Linked DNA regions of Homo sapiens: regions 1 and 3 are each linked to region 2. Evidence: promoter capture Hi-C in human tissues and cell types (Jung and others, 2019). All regions are on one chromosome and are shown on one strand. The core of a region is centred on a gene start or on the middle of the fragment in contact, and the rest is flanking DNA. Distances in the headings are between cores, read along the strand shown.

What was found. The method cuts DNA at HindIII sites, captures the fragments that hold promoters and counts their contacts. A contact is called where the count stands out against the background at its distance.
Region 1: a contact is called between a fragment that was not itself captured here and the fragment with the promoter of SPRR4 in region 2, in 3 of the 25 tissues and cell types used here (H1 embryonic stem cells, adrenal gland and pancreas).
Region 3: a contact is called between a fragment that was not itself captured here and the fragment with the promoter of SPRR4 in region 2, in 2 of the 25 tissues and cell types used here (aorta and liver).

What each region holds. Positions count from the first base shown.
Region 1 is chr1:153,020,703-153,023,724 of GRCh38, forward strand. The region is part of intron 2 of LOC105371446 (a long non-coding RNA gene); the gene reads left to right. Among named protein-coding and RNA genes, the nearest start is that of SPRR1B, 9.0 kb to the right of the region's middle. RefSeq lists an enhancer at 2,074-3,022. The HindIII fragment of the contact is 5,832 bases long and covers 1-3,022 here.
Region 2 is chr1:152,969,282-152,972,215 of GRCh38, forward strand. It overlaps SPRR4 (small proline rich protein 4), which reads left to right and starts at 1,367. Exons shown (of 2, transcript NM_173080.3): 1 at 1,367-1,413; 2 at 2,590-2,934. The coding sequence starts at 2,610. The coding sequence ends at 2,849. The HindIII fragment of the contact is 6,838 bases long and covers 1-1,956 here.
Region 3 is chr1:152,922,867-152,925,938 of GRCh38, forward strand. No RefSeq gene overlaps it. Among named protein-coding and RNA genes, the nearest start is that of IVL, 16 kb to the left of the region's middle. The HindIII fragment of the contact is 6,343 bases long and covers 1-3,072 here.

The sequences.
Region 1 (3,022 bases), core at 275-2,774, 52 kb after region 2:
TATCCTTATTATGCTTCAAAAACTACAGTACACCTGTTGTTAGATTCCAGTCTTGCCTAATGTTTTTCAACTGTTATTATTTTCTACAGTTTGGACCAAATTCTAATTTTCTTGGCTACAAGTCTTCAAAATAATGTTTTCAATTCTTTTCCTTCTTTTTCCCCCCATTTTTCCTAATTGAGAGTCACTGAAAACTAAGCTGTGCTTTCTTAAAGCCCTACGAACTGAAGGTGGACAACTTAAACTTCGGAAGAAAATAATAGCAACCTATTTACATACATAAGCCACTTTCATACCTGCCTACTAATATATGGACTTCAGAGTAATGTGTCCTACATCGATTTTCTAGGGTTTTCCTTTTGTTTGTTTTTCTCCCTTCCTCCCCCTATTTTCTCTTCATACAACATGAGACTTCACAACCTGCTAAAATGGGCTTTCCTAATAACTCAGGACCTACCCATCTAGGAATAAACCATCCTAGCCATGAGAGATCAGATGAAACCTGGGAAAAGAGACTCAATTTCTTCTAAAATGCTTTCTCCAAAAGATTTTTTAAAAGAAAAGGGGGGAAGAATGGTAGGAAAATAAATCTCAGGGCCCCCAAATCACTAAGCTAAAGGGAAAAGTCAAGCTGGGAACTGCTCAGGGCAAACCTACCTCCCATTCTACTCAAAGTCACCCCTCTGCTCACTGAGATAAATGCATATCTGATTGCCCCCTTTGGAGAGACTAATCAGAAACTCAAAAGAATGCAACTATTTGTCTCTTATCTACCTGTGATCTGGAAGCCCCCTCTCTGCTTCCTGTTGTCCCACCTTTCCTGACCGAACCAATATTCATCTTACATGTGTTGATTGATGTCTTATGTATAAAACCAAGCTGCGCTCTGACCACCTTGGGCACATGTCGTCAGGACTTCCTGAGGCTGTGTCACGGGCATGCATCCTCAACCTTGGCAAAACAAACTTTCTAAATTAACTGAGACCTGTCTGGTTTCACAGCTGGAATGAAGGTAAAACAGCCCTCCCCAAATCCACTTCCTTATAGCAGGGCTCATTTTGCATATAAAAGCCCAGTTGGCCAGAGACTCCTAACCAGACCTGAGAGGCCAGGGAGCTCAATCTTCTGAAGTAAGAGTTCCAACCTGAAACTGTTTAATATTCACCTAATTGTATCTTATTTTGATTGGGGTCTCCTTGCAATGCTAAGGCTATGGTTATTTGAAATGGATTTGCAGTTTGTACTTAAGGGTACTGTAATGCCCAACCTTGTTTTTCCTTTTTCACCTAGCCTTGTTTCCACCTGAATAGACTCTCCCTTAGCTGAGAGAACCAGACAAACTCCATCTTGGCTCTTTCACTTGTAGCCCCTTCCTCAAGGACTTAACTTGTGCAAGCTGACTCCCAGCACATCCAAGAATGCAATTAACTGATAAGATACTGTGGCAAGCTATATCCACAGTCCCCAAGAATTCGTCTGATTGATAATGCCCAAAGCCCCGTGTCTACCCCCTTGTAATAGTCTTAAAGCCCCTGCACCTGGAACTGTTTACTTTCCTGTAACCATTTATCCTTTTAACTTTTTGACTACTTAAATTCTGTAAAATTGTTTTAACTAGACACCCCCTCCCCTTTCTAAACCAAGATATAAAAGTTAATCAAGCCCCTTCCTCGGGGCCGAGAGAATTTTGAGCATTAGCCGTCTCTCGGTCGCCGGCTAATAAAGGACTCTTAATTCGTCTCAAAGTGTGGCGTTTTTCTAACTCCCTCGGGTACAACAGTACTAAAGCAGTTCTTTTTGACTTCCCACTCAGATTACAGCTGTGGGACTGAGACTCAGAAAAGGGAAGTGACTTATTTTAGAGTGCTGTTCCCTGAGCAGGAGGAATGAACTAGACTCCATGCCCAGGGCACTTTTAGTGATATTTTAATCATCTGTATGATTTTTAGAATTGTCAGCATCAAAGGCACTGCATTAGACAATTTGGATGTTCAAAACTTAAATCTAGGTGCAGTGGCACATTCTGTAGTTCCACCAACATTGGAGGCTGAGGCTGGAGGATCACTTGAGCCCAGGAGTTTGAGGCCTGCCTAGGTGACATAGCAAGACCCCATTTCTTAAAAAGAAAAAAAAAAAGTTAAATTCTTCCTTGCTACACAAACCTATGATCTATCAGAGAACACAACACGTGCACAAACTTTGCAAACATACAGCATGGGGAGTATGAGATCAGTAAAGAGGACAAATCATGTACCATGCTGTGGCTAAATAAGGAAGATGAGTGTAAGGTTCTTGTATCAGTTCAAACTCCGAGAACATGCCAACAGACAACACGAGACAAAACATGCTGTTTTAATGAGCGCCTGGGTGCAGGGAAGCTGAGGCCTAAAATGGCGTCAGTCCCAAGTGAGGACGGGGCAAAGGTTTTACAGTCTCCTGTAAACAGGATGTGTCCTAGTCTGACGCAACTGCTATGTTGTACCTGGATGGCCTCTTTCAGGATCTTCAGGGGTACGTGTCTTCCAGCCGGGGTAGGTGTCCTTCAGCCAGCTCTCTTCCTGCTTCTGCTATCTTGCTGACGCATGCTGCTGATGCAAGTGGCCTTGCACCTTGGGACTGGGCCTGAGAAGGCAGGAGTTATTCATCTCCTTAAGCTTTCAGGCCCATGGGAGAATCTCACAAATGAGACCATCAGGGAGGACAACCAGGAGGGGTGGGCAGGTGTGGACAAGTAGTGTTGGCACGGAGAGCCTTCCAGAAAACATGTGCAGTGGGCAACGTGTGAAAACAGGGTCACAGTTGGATTGTATGGGCCTCAGGAGGAGGTTTAGATGGAGTTTTCCTATGAGAACTATGGCACTGTATAAGGTAGGCATGAGTGAGTAGACTTTAGACTATTGACCTTTCCAAATTATTGCAAATCTGGGGCCTCCCATCAGTCCTTGGAGGCTTGTTAGGTTCCCTCACTAGTGTATGCTCTTAGATATACCAAGAAAAATGGAAGCTAAGAGGACACAACTTA
Region 2 (2,934 bases), core at 117-2,616:
GGCACCCACCCAGCTCCACCCTGAGCAGCTGCATGTGGTTGAGCAGGTCCTTTAACTTCTTTGGGCCAGCCTCTTTAAATTGTCAGTAAAATTGTCATGAGGATTAAATGAGGTGAGGGATTTGAAAAATGCTTTGGAAAGTACATTAAGGTATTCCTATCATTTCTCAGGCCATCCTACCCCTTCCTCTGGTGATGGCAGTGGTGAGCCCTTGCATGGCCTCTTGTTGGGCAGCATCCTGAGGTCGATCTTTGGGGTAGAGGGCTAGAGGTGGACCAGCTTCCCAGAGGCCCTGCCTTTCTCCATCCCAGGGCCTAGGAGGCTAAATGGAGGACCAGGGCTCCTTCCTGCCACCTAGATAAGGCCCTGAGTAGGATTGCTGTATTTAGCAAATAAAAATAGAGCCTGCCCAGTGAAATTTGAATTTCATATGAACTACAAGTAATTTTTGAGTATGTTTCCTGCAATATTTGGAATATACTTATACTTTTAAAATATTCTGTTATCTGAGATTCAAATTTAACTGAATGTCCTGTATTTTATGTGGCAAGTCTACCACAGGGGCCAATTCTATCCCATGTTCTGTAACCACCACGAATACTCCTCAGCACCCCAACTCCCAATGGGCAGATGGGGACAGCACCGCCGTGTGCTGGGGCACCATTCACATCATCTTCTACCTGTGCCCCAGAGAAGCCTCACAGAACACTTCGTGAACTGTCCCCCTGGAATAGGAAGGACACTTGCACTGTGTATTGAGGAAGGGGGATGAGTGGTACCTGGGGCTAGGCATTGAATCATCCAGATCTGAATTCAAATCCCATCTCTGCTGTTTAATCTTTCTCAGCCTCACTTTTTTCATCTGCAAAATGGTAACAACGACACTTTCCCTAGAGGGGCCATGAAGATGAAATGAAATAATAAGCATGACGGATGGTCCTGGTGCTAGCCTCACAGTGAGTGCTCAAGAAATGGCAGCAATTTGCAGAAAAAGGGATGTTCACATTTTTGTCAGAATTGCCCCAAACCCCATCCTCTCCCTCTTCCTCTTTTTTCTTCAATATTTCTTATAACTGTCTGTCTGCAAACAGCTCCTTCAATTTGTACTATATTTAAAAGATCTTGAATCCCTGAGTTTGAGCAAACACCTTTGGTGGGTTAAATCAGCTCAGGTGCAGAGACTTGGAATGCTGAAAATATATGGTGGGTGGCTTTCATCAAAACAGGTCAGCAAAGCAAGTCCCTGAAGGAAGTGCAGGTGGGAGAAGTGGGTGAGGAATTCCCTGGGAGGTGGTAATCAGGACCACACCAAGTGCCCAGGGCAGGTTGGGGGCCCTATAAAGGCTCCTGGAGTGGCTCTGCCTGTGGACAAGGGCTCAGCCTCCTCTCCTGGGGTCCAGCTTGTCGCCTCTGGTAAGTGAGAACTCATCTGTTCTCCTGGGATTTGTGGGGCGCTTTCCTTCTCCTTTAACTCCTTTGAGCCGCTAGGCCAAGATCCTCTTCCATCCTTGGGTAATCAGGGAAGTGACACAAGTCTTCTGACAATTGCGGAAATGGCACACTAATCGGTACTTAGAAAGTTTAATCTCCATTCCGCACCATTGCTCAGTATGACTTATTTTCTGATCATGGGTTTGACTCCCCAGAAAGAAGATTTTTATTGTTGAAGAAGGAGATATTTAGAGCTACAGGATTTTGTAGCAATTCCGAGCCCTGTTTAAAGGTTTCTCACACCCTATTCTGCATTTTGCTTACCAGTAAGCTTTAAACTTTTCTTCCAGGTGTATGCAAACAGGTATATTGAACATTTTATTCAATCCTATGCAGCTCTCATGCTTCCCTATTCTGATTGCCACCTCTTTACTTCCTGAGGCCTGCACTTCCCATCTATAATCATTAACTTAGACCATAAGGAACACTGCCTACAAAGATAGCCAGAGACCCTCATCAGAGCTGGGAAGGCTTCAGGGAACTTCCTGACCAGCATCCTTCTAATAAGGGTGCTGAGACCCACAGAAGGAAGGTTGCCCATGAAGTTAATGGCAGGATGGACCTAGAACCAATGTCTGAGCCTTCTTGGCTAGCGCTCTTTCCTTTGAACATCCTCCTGTCATCCTTTGGCTCCAGTGATCTATTTGGCTGGCCCTCAAGCTTCCCAGTTCTTTGTAGAGGGCTGGAACCACTATCCTGTAGCCACATAGGACTTGCCTTAGTCTCCCATGGTGAGTCAGGGGTGGAGCAGGGATTAGAGATCAGGCCTCTGCATTCTTATACACCCCTTCTCCAGCCCGATCTCTCACACACACACACACACACACACACACACACACACTCACACACACACCATGATGCTTACCTGTAAGACAGAGACTGTTTTTGTCCTCTCCTCATGCCCCTACATCCTTGCCCATTCTCATTGTCTGCATTATCAAAGGGAGCCAGTTGACATTGTCCAGATCTGTCAGCTAAGATGGCATGCTTTGACCTTGTAAAATGTCTGGGCTACTTTTTAACCATCTTTTTAAAAAGGGTGTTAAAAGGCTACTTTTTAACACCCTTCTCATGGTGTCCCTGCCCGGTTTCCTTTAGGCTCACCTGTTCCTAGAGCAATGTCTTCCCAGCAGCAGCAGCGGCAGCAGCAGCAGTGCCCACCCCAGAGGGCCCAGCAGCAGCAAGTGAAGCAGCCTTGTCAGCCACCCCCTGTTAAATGTCAAGAGACATGTGCACCCAAAACCAAGGATCCATGTGCTCCCCAGGTCAAGAAGCAATGCCCACCGAAAGGCACCATCATTCCAGCCCAGCAGAAGTGTCCCTCAGCCCAGCAAGCCTCCAAGAGCAAACAGAAGTAAGGATGGACTGGATATTACCATCATCCACCATCCTGGCTACCAGATGGAACCTTCTCTTCTTCCTTCTCCTCTTCCCTCCAGCTCT
Region 3 (3,072 bases), core at 475-2,974, 46 kb before region 2:
GGGTTCCCTGGAAGCACATCCTGAGATGAGGATTTATTTGCAGTATAACTTATTAAAGCAGTACTTCCAGGAGAAACTAGTTAGGGCATAGGAGTAGCAGGACAGAGAAGGAGAGGAAACCAGATTGTCATTTTGGGCAAACATGTGTGCAGGTAGCTTCATCCTGATTCTGCAAGAAAACTCTGGAATGTAAAAGAAAAGCTGTATTGATATGAGACAAGAAAGCTAGGCTGTGATACTCTCGTACCTGTAAGTCATTGGCTAAGGGCCACTCCAGGGAGACATAAAATATCTGGTACTTCAGGCTTTGTGCATGTGAGGACATAGCAAATTCAGTTGCCAAACACATTCATCTGAAGAAGCATCAGATAGAAACAAATGAAAGCAAAAGGATACCCAAACCTAAGTGGTGTTGAACAACACCATGAGAATGAAGTCAGCAAAATCCAGACTGAAAAACTCCATATGACAAATAGTATGGTTTCTTTAATAAAAAATTGCAAAGGGACAAAAGAAATAAACTGGGAACCTTTAGATCAAAATAAACTTAAGAGATATATAGATGTATTAATTAATAAAAATGTATCTACATTATTTTGATGTCATTTCAAATAAGTCATTAGTAAATTAATGATTTGTAGCATAATTGGAAATGTGAACACTGAGTGGATATTTCCTAGTATAAAGATGTTAGCTAGTATTTTCAAGGTGTGATAATATTTAACATAACTACTGAAAAAAGTATTTATAGATATAAAGAGATGAAATGACATGAGTCTGTGATTTGCTAAAAGTAACACTGTAGGAGGCAAGTGGTAAGAGAGATAAAATGAACAACGTTGTCCATAATTTGAAAGTTATTAAACCTAGTTGATGTACACGTGATTTATTCTACTATTCTGTTCATTTATATGTTTTAAATTACCATTAAAATGTCTTTAAAATAATATAATAATTTTATTGAAGTGAACTAACATATACAGTATAAAAACTGCATCCTTTGTAACTACACATATAATTAAAAAAAAATTAAGACTTCAACTTAAAAGTGTAACGAGCAGTGCAGAACTTTTAAAACATTTCAGAGAGCTGTCTTAGGTTGGTTCCCTGAAGAAGCACAGTCTGCGACAAGTGAATAGGTACAAGTAGTTTATTTTGAGATGTGACCCCAAATAGCAGAAGTCAGGGCCACTAGGAAGAATAAAACAATAGAGAGAGAAAGTCAGTCCAATGGTGTGCTGTTGAGCTGTGTATTCCTGTGGATAACAGGCTAAACCGCACCCTGAAGTTTCCAAGGGCCATCTAGAACATATATTAGAACTGTTTGCTGGAGATACTGAAAAGAATGCTTGCTCTCTGTGTACTCCTATGTCTAGTAACCAGTGGTTGTCTGGAGGATGTTAACCTCCTCACGTTTCCACCCTGTGCTTCCACCAGCATGACTGAGTAGTCGGCTGTGAGTGTTCCACAGCCTGGCTGTCAAGAGCCCTGGGGCAGATGTGAGAGACACCTAGTGCAGCTGAAGTGAGGTGCTGTGGGATACTCCTCAGCATAGGTGGTTGCCATAGCTACAGCCTGGGTAAAATGGTGAGCTGAGAAAACAGGAGGAAGGGCATAAAAAATGTTAGACTGTAGACATCTAGAAAGTTTGACAGGAGATATTTATGGACCTTATAATCAGAGTGTCTTCCTATTGCAATGGTCCATTTCCCTCCTTGCAATAATCCTTTTGAATAAAGTCTCTCTACAGTAAGAAAGTTCAACAGCAACTGATTAATCTTCCTAATGTTTTCTCTTTCTCATTTAAGTCTGAGATTTATTACAAATTCGGTTCTTTTTGTAATTTCTGTTTTAATTATAGTTACAACCCTTTTTTAACTTTCCATATTAACTTTTTTCTCTTTTTTATCTTGGTCAACATTTTTAATTTTGACTATTTTTTTCACCTTTTCAAAGAATCGGTTTGGCTTAGTCGATTCATATAATATATCTTTGTCTTTTATTTTATTAATTTTTCATTTTATATTTAGTATTTTCTTACATATACTTTCTTTTTTTTTTTTTTTTTTTTTTGAGACGGAGTCTCGCTCTGTCGCCCAGGCTGGAGTGCAGTGGCGGGATCTCGGCTCACTGCAAGCTCCACCTCCCGGGTTCACGCCATTCTCCTGCCTCAGCCTCCCAAGTAGCTGGGACTACAGGCGCCCGCCACTACGCCCGGCTAATTTTTTGTATTTTTAGTAGAGACGGGGTTTCACCGTTTTAGCCGGGATGGTCTCGATCTCCTGACCTCGTGATCCGCCCGCCTCTGCCTCCCAAAGTGCTGGGATTACAGGCGTGAGCCACCGCGCCCGGCCTACATATACTTTCTTTAGCATTTATTTTTTAATTCCACTTTCCTGTATTAGATCATTAATTTTCAGCCTTTCATATTTTATATAAACTTTTAAAGTCTTAATTCTCCTTACTTTTATTGCTTTTTCTGTATATCTAGTGAGTTCTGATATGCAATATTTATGCTACTGTTTAGTTCCAAGCATTTAAAAATCTCCTCCAGACTGTCCTGTCCAGGAGTAAAAGTTACGGTAATGCCACAATATCACACATAGGAAGGACAACATTGGCTCTTATGCCTCAGAAATCAACATTTGGACCATTCTGCTAGGTAACGGAAATAATAAAAATAATAAATAATTTATAAGCAAACAAAACAAGCTGACCAGGTGAGGCACTGCTGTGGAGGTTAAAAGGATGTCTGCTGGAGTCACACACTTGAGATTGAACCCAGCTCTTCTGCTTACATTCTATGTGATCCTGGGCAGGCTACATCATATCTCTGATCTGTTTCTTCATTATTAAAATGCAGACAAAAATATTGACCTTTCAGCATTGGTTTCGTTATTAAATAACACTTGCAAAGTACTTAGGTTAGTGTCTAGCACACGAAAGGGGCTCAGCAAATGAAAGCAGTGGTTCACACAGCATATTTGGGATTTCAGAAGTTCCTTTTGTTTTCCTCTGTGCCTTTTACTCATGTCTAATTAGACCATGAAAACAGACTTTGCTTCTTTCTTA